Linked DNA regions of Homo sapiens: region 1 is linked to region 2. The links are contacts of gene promoters, found by promoter capture Hi-C in blood cells and fetal thymus (Javierre and others, 2016). All regions are on one chromosome and are shown on one strand. Each heading gives the region's core, a stretch centred on a gene start or on the middle of the fragment in contact. The rest is flanking DNA. Distances are from core to core; before and after follow the strand shown.

Region 1 (3,915 bases), core at 343-2,842, 1.9 Mb after region 2:
GTACACTTAGAATGGTGGGGTTGGGCTAGGTGGTCTATAAAGGCCATTTCTCCTCTTACATCTTCTCTAATTCTAGGTTTAATACCTAATTTGAAAGCACCGTCTAACCTAGGCTTTCTCATTCTCTCAAGGTCATAGACACTATATCCAGGTCCTGAGAAACCTATCTTCCTCTCCTATTAGCTGTCACCAACAGTAAATCCCTCTTCTTTTTTAACGTCCAGAGAACTGCCTCCCATCCCAAGCCTACTGATGCTACTTTAAAACATATTTATTAGATCCATGGGCCTCCTTTGTTGACTTGGAAAAGTCTAGATTAAGACACCAATTTGGCTACTGTAAATCAGCACGGCCATAAACATGGAAACCCCTTTTAGTGTTTATCTATGCAGGGCACCGTGTTAAATTTTTTTTTTTTTTTACGCAATATGGGCCGTGCGCAGTAGCTCACGCCTGCAATCCCAGCACTTTGGGAGGCCGGCGGGGGCCGATCACGTGAGGTCAGACTTTCAGACCATCCTGGCTAACGTGGCGAAGCCCCGTCTCTACTAAAAATACAAAAATTAGCTGGGTACGGTGATGCGTGCCTGTGATCCCAGCTACTCAGGAGGCTGAGACAGAAGAATCGCTCGAACCCAGGAGGCGGAGGTTGCAGTGAGCCGAGATCGCGCCACTGCACTCCAGTCTGGGTAACAGAGAGAGACTCCGTCTCAAAAAAGAAAAAAAAAAGATTTTTAAACACAGTATGCACACAATAATACTCCTAAGAGCCCTGTGAGTCCTACGATTACTGTCCCCATTTCAGATCAGAGCCCACGTTCCAAGCATAAAGCCTCCCATCTAAACAGCAGGGCTGTGGTGGCGATTCCAGGAGATACTTGGAAGCCAGAGTTAACTGCAGGTTAAGAACACAGGGCTCTGCAGCCAGACTGTCCGGTTTCGAATCCCGATGCCACCTTTTGTTTGGTTCTGGGATTTGGGGGCAAACCGAGGTAAATAAGTTGCCCCGACTCGTAGGAAGCGCCCATAAATGTCAGTTCTCATTCTTCCTAGTTAGCTGTTTTGGGGTCCTCTCCACAGCAACGGAATAGGGCAGTTTAACTCTGGTTAACTCTCTGGCCTCCGATGCTAAGGTTGCGCCCTCTGCTTGGCCCTCTGAGCGTCAGGGCTTCCGCTGATTCTGCCCCAGAGCCCTGTTGCCGTCCGCTCACCTCCTGATGATCCTCCACCACCCACACTGGGAGCTTGGGGTAACGCCGGAGACCAGCGCGCCCTCCCGCGGAGTCACTCATGTTTTTGCGCCCGTCAGTTTTGCAGTAAAGCGGTGGCAGCTGGAGAAGACCCGGGAAAGCCGGCGCCTCATCCCGGCCAGCTCTCTCCGGGCGGAAGCGCTCCCTCACCCGGTTGCGTTTTCGGATTGGAGGACGTAGGGGGAGGGGGCGCGGGCTCCAAAGGGTCTTTTGCTGACGATTGGTCTAGACGTCCATCGCTTTCGTTGACGCGCCAATCACCGCGCACAAGGCCCTGCGGTGGGCTGAAGAGTTTTCCCTCCCTTGGCCCAGCTTTCTCAGGTTTGCTTTTTAATTCCCTCGGTTTCCTGTTCCGGAGGCGCGGGCGGTGCCACTGTCTTGGTACCTGCGGTAGTAGCCTGGCTTTGCTCTGACGGCGATCTCGCGGCCCGAGAGCCTTTTATAGGTAAAAGGGGTACCTTGCAAGTGTTAGAAGAGAGTTTCCGAGTGTCAGGATTTAAACGGGGCTGGAGTCTCCGGGGCTGGGGTGAAAAGCGTCCGGGAATTGGGGTCGGGCAGCCCCACTTCAGATCTGCAGCTAAGGGCAAAAGAGCGACGCTAGGCCTGGATCCCGCAAATAAGTGGAAGTGAAAAAGGAGACCTTTCATTCATTTGTGGAGCACACACTATGGTCCAGGCCTGGGGCCGCCCGGCTCTCGGAGGGGAGTGAGATCCTGAGCTCAGCGCCTGCCTCGTGGGGCGTACCGTCTGGCGGGAGATGCAAACAGTAAATGTGCAGTTATGGATCAGGATGAAGGTGACTGCCCTGCAGATCCACCTGGGGAAAGAGGGAGTTCTCAATAAAAATGTAGTCACACTTTAAAATTCTTTTTACATGCACTGACGTTCTGGCCGTGTTAACTATTCAAGACAGCTCCTTCAGTGTCTCTGTTTCCAAACCGCAACCGAGAAGAGACAGACGGAGAAAAGAGAGTTACTTTTCCAGGTGCAGTGAATTCCTTGACTTTTGAATTAAAGTCTGCATCCACAACACAGCCGGACTATGCCTTCAATAGGTCAATTTCATGATTAGTATTTTTAGATTTTCTAACTACTGAAACATCCATGAGGATCTGGCAGTGAATGTTCAGCTCTTGTTACACACTGTACAAGAGTGTTCGTGACCCTGACTTTTGCCCACCTCTAGGTGCGGCACACACCTTTGTGTTCCCCTAAGCCCTGCACATACCTCTTTTTTGTGTGTTTATTGCATTATTTTGTATTTTTAAAACACTTACTTGTACGTGGGTTCTGAGTTCCTTGAATCCTACAGGCTGTGTGTCTTATTATCTCTGAGTCTACAGGGCCTGGGACAGTGCTTCCCATTTATGGGCTCATTAAATATTGCATGACTCAGTGAAAAGGCCTGCTTTCTGTTGCGGAGGTACATGGAAGGGAAATGTACAGTAGCAACATGGAAACATACTATTGGTGAGAGAGTAAACATTTATTGACCACCTACTGTGTGTAGGTTGCTTTTCCCGGGGATGTGAAGGATACAGAAATGACTGTGAATCAACCCATATCATCAAGGAGCTGATAATCTAGTGGAAGAGTTAGACGTGTGCATACTTCACTATGATATGAGGCAGTCTCTGGTAAGTGCTGTAAAAGGATTAAGTATAGACTAAGTCTAGAGGGAATGGGATTACCTAAGGGAATCAGGAAGGGCTTCATAGAGGAGGTGGCATTTAAGATTGATAGATGGATAGAAAATCACTGGGCAGATTCATACGTTGGGAGATTTTTTTTTTTTTTTTTTTTTGAGCTAGAGTTTCGCTCTTGTTGCCCAGGCTGGAGTGCAATGGCGCGATCTGAACTCACTGCAACCTCTGCCTAGGGTGGGAGATTTTAGAGAGGAGAACGGGAGCAAAGAACTAGCTGGTTCTTTGTACTCGAATGGTAATCTGTTGGGAAAACATGGGGTAGTAGGGTCTTTCTGGGGAAGGTACTGGAGAACAAGCCTGGGTCCAGAGTCAATAGAGCCTTAAATGCCAAGCACAGAGGTTGAACTTGATTCTGTTGGCAGTGAGTAGCCTATGGTGGCAGGAGCACCTGTCCGGGCCCCAGGTTTATCATGAGGGTACTGGACTGGATAATAGTAATAAGGAGTCAGGCGCAGTGACTCACGCCTGTAGTTCCAGCTATTTTGGAGGCTGAGGTGAGAGGATTGCTTGAGCCCAGGAGTAAGAGACAGCAGTGAGCTATGATTGCACCACTGCACTCCAGCTTAGGGACAGAGTAGACTTTGTGTCTTAAAAAAAAAATCAGATATTATTTGGTGCCTATTATTTATTAAGCACACTGACTGCTAGCATAATCTGAAATTATTTTCATGAGCCATTTGAAAGTCTACATAGTAAAGTTCTATTGATGAGACTTTTAGAAAGACTTTCAGAAAATGTTTCTATGTTACAGCTTTTTGTACTCAATATTTATGTGAGTTTTTAAAAAATGTTTTGCTGAAGTTCAAGTATTTGGAAAATCATTCATGTTTACAGTGTTTTTATGTGGGAGGAACTGAGAATGAAAATTAAGAATCATTAACTGGTGTGTTAACAAGATTCTGGTTATGTTTGAATTTGAATGCTGGTCTCACTGTGATTTTTGTGTTTGGTCTATGCCT
Region 2 (3,689 bases), core at 1,010-3,509:
AAGTTACTGTTCCTACGCCTGCTTTCTCATCTGTATAATGGAGATAATAACAGAACCCACTTCACAGCGTTATTAAGAAGACTGAATGAGGCCGGGCGCGGTGGATCACGCCTGTAATCCAAGAACTTTGGGAGGCCGAGACGGGCGGATCACGAGGTCAGGAGATCGAGACCATCCTGGCTAACACGGTGAAACCCCGTCTCTACTAAAAATACAAAAAATTAGCCAGGCCTGGTGGCTGAGGCAGGAGAATGGCATGAACCCGGGAGGTGGAGCTTGCAGTGAGCCGAGATCGCACCACGGCACTCCAGCCTGAGTGACAGAGCGAGACTCCGTCTCAAAAAAAAGAAGACTGAATGAGTTAATTCATGGAATGCATTAATACAGTGCCAAACTCGTATTTAGTACTCAAAATAAATATTAACTATTGTATAATTATTACAGGAAGGAAAAATTACATATGTGTTAACCATACATATCACGTCCAATTAAGAATAGCACAGGAGAATATTTATGGACATGGAAAGTTGTTGACCACATTCTATTAAGCAAAAAAAAAAAAAAAAAAAAAAGTTACAAAACAGTAAAAATATCATTTTATGTGAAAAAAATCTACGTATAGTCACCATTTATCATCTAGAATTAAATTTACATAGTTAGAATGTGCCCGTATGCAGTTTCTCCATTCAATCTCGAGTGGACAATCAAGAAAAAAATTTGGCTTTTAAGTGAACTGTCCTGTCACAGACTTGGGATAGAGGATCCCTTAGCTGAAGACGTCACCACTTCTCACTTGGACTATTACAACAGCCTTCTGCATGTGGCCTAACCTTCTATCCCAATGCCAGCGTGACTTTTACAAATACAATCTTCCTGCTTAAGATCCTTCATGTATAGAATACAAGTTTCAAACATCCTTGTTGCCTAAGATCCTTCTGATTACTGTTCCTTTAACCCTTCTGGCATATCTCTTGCAAACAACCCGAAAGACAATTCACCTGCGTGCCCCTTTTCACTGCCTTCCCTACCTTTACGTGGGAAGCCCCGTCCTGCCTGTTTACCTGGTGAAATCATTCTTCCAAACTAAATTCTAAAGTGCCTTCCTAAACTTCCTCTTCTGTAATACCACAAGGTTGATCACAAAGCACTAGGGCTGTTTTCCTGTCTCTTACACATCAGCCTGTGAGGCCCTCAAAGTCGGGGAACTGGGCCCTATTCATCTTCCCACATGCACCGCCCAGATCAGTGCCGGGCAAAATGTATACTTAACCACCCAAACTTGGACAAGCTGGGTCAGATCTCGGGCACTCGGTTTTCCTTTCCTTAAAATGGAGCTCTTTACCCCCGCAGGATCTTAGGAGATTGATTAAATAAGGCTCTGCAATGTGTTTCCCGCTTACAGTAAGCCATAAACGCAAGTTTGGAAGCCTCAAGCCTAAGATTCTGATTCTGTCTCCGCGTCTAACTACTGTAGATGTGAGGCTCTGAACAAGTCGCTCACTCAAGGTCTGTTTCCTCATCTGTAAAGAGAATGGACCCACAGATGAACTGCAAGGCCCCACCCTAATTTATGAATGGATGGTTCCCAAAGGGGGTTCCGACTTTCCAGGAGTCCCACCATCCCCCACTTCTCCGACCCACGCGGTCCCGGCCGCTTCCTGCTTCCTGCCCCCCGCTCCCGCCGCGAGCGTAGCGTCTGCACCCACTAGAGTCCCAGGCTGGTCTCTGGGTCCCACCAAGTTTGCTCACCGGCTTCTCCTCGCCTCCCATCTTCCCTGAAGGACTGCTGGCCTTCTCCTCAAACATTGGCGAACGACGAAGCGATGAGAGAACCCGAAAGCGACGGCCTAGAGGAGAGGAGCCAAGAGGCGGGTGGGAGGTGGGCTAGCGCCCGGGACTTGGCCTCGGCTGGACCAGCTGATGCAATCGAAAGGCGCCCTAACCCCGCCCCCAACTTGCGGCGGAACGAGCAGCCAATGGATAACGGGGGAAGGCGGGCCCTCCCTCCTCTAAGCCAGTGGAAAATCTTTTCGGGTGACAGAGCCCTTCTAGGAAATCAGGTCGCGGAGGGTGAGGAGGAGCAACTGCAGAAGCTACATGCCTACTCTCCGCTGACCTTGGTCTGGACGCTTTCCAGAGTCAAGTCCCCAATGCGCGTGCGCCTTTCCTCCCTTCTGACTTTATGTGGAACAATCATGGACCTTCCCGGACACCGTAGATAATAAGTAGGTCTTGGTCTAAACTTCCGGGAAGTTTTCGGCGACCTGGATACCATCTTCGACACGGGGACAAATCCCGGGATGGAGTCCAGGGTTTCCCGCGGCTTCGGCGCTTCCTGACCTGGCGTGACTGCCGACTTGTCGGCACCACCCAGGCCTCAGGCTCCCTGTCTGTAGTGGTGAATCGACCTTCCTCATGGCAGTCCAGGCTTCCCAAGCCCCATGTCCTGTTGATCCGGGACAAACTCTTCCTTGAACGTTCTTCACTACGAGCCGCTGCTGATCTGTACTGCCTGGAGGAGCATTTCCATAGCGCCCGCAAAAATACAATAAAGCTCACCCAAGGAAATAACCATGGATTCTCACGCCTGGGTGCCAGTGTTTGGAATCGACTGGGCTTTTTTATGTTAGTAGGCAATTTAAAACAATTACTTATTTGAAATCAGAAGCGCAATAGGCATAACTTCAGGTACGTGCTCCACCACCACGTTTTGTGGATTTTTCTTTTTAAACATCAGTTCTGTTCTCTACAACTCTCCGCCTTCAGGGTTATACTTTCCAGGAACAATAGCTTCCCAATTCGGCTTTGTGCATCCATTTTTCATACAGCATCGTTGTAGTCTTCAAATACAAATATGATCACGGCAATCTGCTGAAAAATCTTTGGTGGCTTTCCCTTGCTCTTGGACAATCCCTGATTGTCCAAGTTTTCGGCTTCATCTCGTTCGCCCACCATACACTGAACTATAAACTGTAGTGGCTTTTTTTCCTCAGGTCTTCCCACAGACTAAGTACCAAGATTTTTCCACCCTACCCTCATCCGTGCTCATTCCGACACACTTTTTGCCTGTTTGACACCTCATTTATTGTCAGATTTCAAGAATCGTTTTCTTCGGGGAACCATTTCTTGACTCCCTTACTGGATGAAACAAGCCTCCCTGTTAAACAGTGTTGGAGGCGCAGAAACATACCCCCAAATAATGGCGTTTTGACATCTGAACTGAAGAAGCCTCAAGGTCCCACTCCCCTAAATCCCCACGCCATCTCTGCCAAAGCAAAGGATAAAGTTTAGACACATCACAAGGAACATAATTGTTTTTGTTGCCTCCCTGTAAGACCAAGAATGTAGTAATCACACCTGAGCAGACCCTTTCACAAGATGTTGTACAAATTAATGTGTTCCTGATACATTCATTCTCCTTTGTAATCCCTCAACAGAATTCCTCTTCTCCCTATCATAACCTGTGTCGCTGGGATTGTATCCACAAGCTTCTGAAGCCCTCTGAGGGGTGGGTAATCACGCTGTGATTCTTCCTGTGTATACACGTTAAGTAAATTTGTATGTTTTTTCTATTAATGTTCCTCATGTTAGTGATTTTCAGCCAAACCTCAGAGGGCCAAGGAGAAAGGTCCCCTTGGCGCTTACAATAGTGTCTGCTGGTAGTTTCATGTGGTTCTTGGTAGAACTTA

Evidence for each region. The method cuts DNA at HindIII sites, captures the fragments that hold promoters and counts their contacts. A CHiCAGO score of 5 or more calls a contact.
Region 1: a contact is called between the fragment with the promoter of DROSHA here and the fragment with the promoter of TARS1-DT in region 2, in 2 of 17 cell types (naive CD8 T cells and total B cells). The highest score is 5.9, in naive CD8 T cells.

The regions. Positions count from the first base shown.
Region 1 is chr5:31,529,770-31,533,684 of GRCh38, reverse strand. It overlaps DROSHA (drosha ribonuclease III), which reads left to right and starts at 1,592. Exons shown (of 36, transcript NM_001382508.1): 1 at 1,592-1,695; 2 at 2,160-2,235; 3 at 2,761-2,887. C5orf22 (chromosome 5 open reading frame 22) reads right to left here and starts at 1,384. Exons shown (of 9, transcript NM_018356.3): 1 at 1,212-1,384. The coding sequence starts at 1,292. RefSeq lists enhancers at 1,163-1,212, 1,263-1,312, 1,343-1,512. The HindIII fragment of the contact is 13,099 bases long and covers 1-3,915 here.
Region 2 is chr5:33,439,204-33,442,892 of GRCh38, reverse strand. It overlaps TARS1-DT (TARS1 divergent transcript), which reads left to right and starts at 2,259. Exons shown (of 3, transcript XR_001742630.2): 1 at 2,259-2,688. TARS1 (threonyl-tRNA synthetase 1) reads right to left here and starts at 1,928. Exons shown (of 19, transcript NM_152295.5): 1 at 1,750-1,928. The coding sequence starts at 1,806. RefSeq lists enhancers at 820-1,406, 1,421-1,480, 1,741-1,930, 2,031-2,340, 1,995-2,582. The HindIII fragment of the contact is 5,282 bases long and covers 1-3,490 here.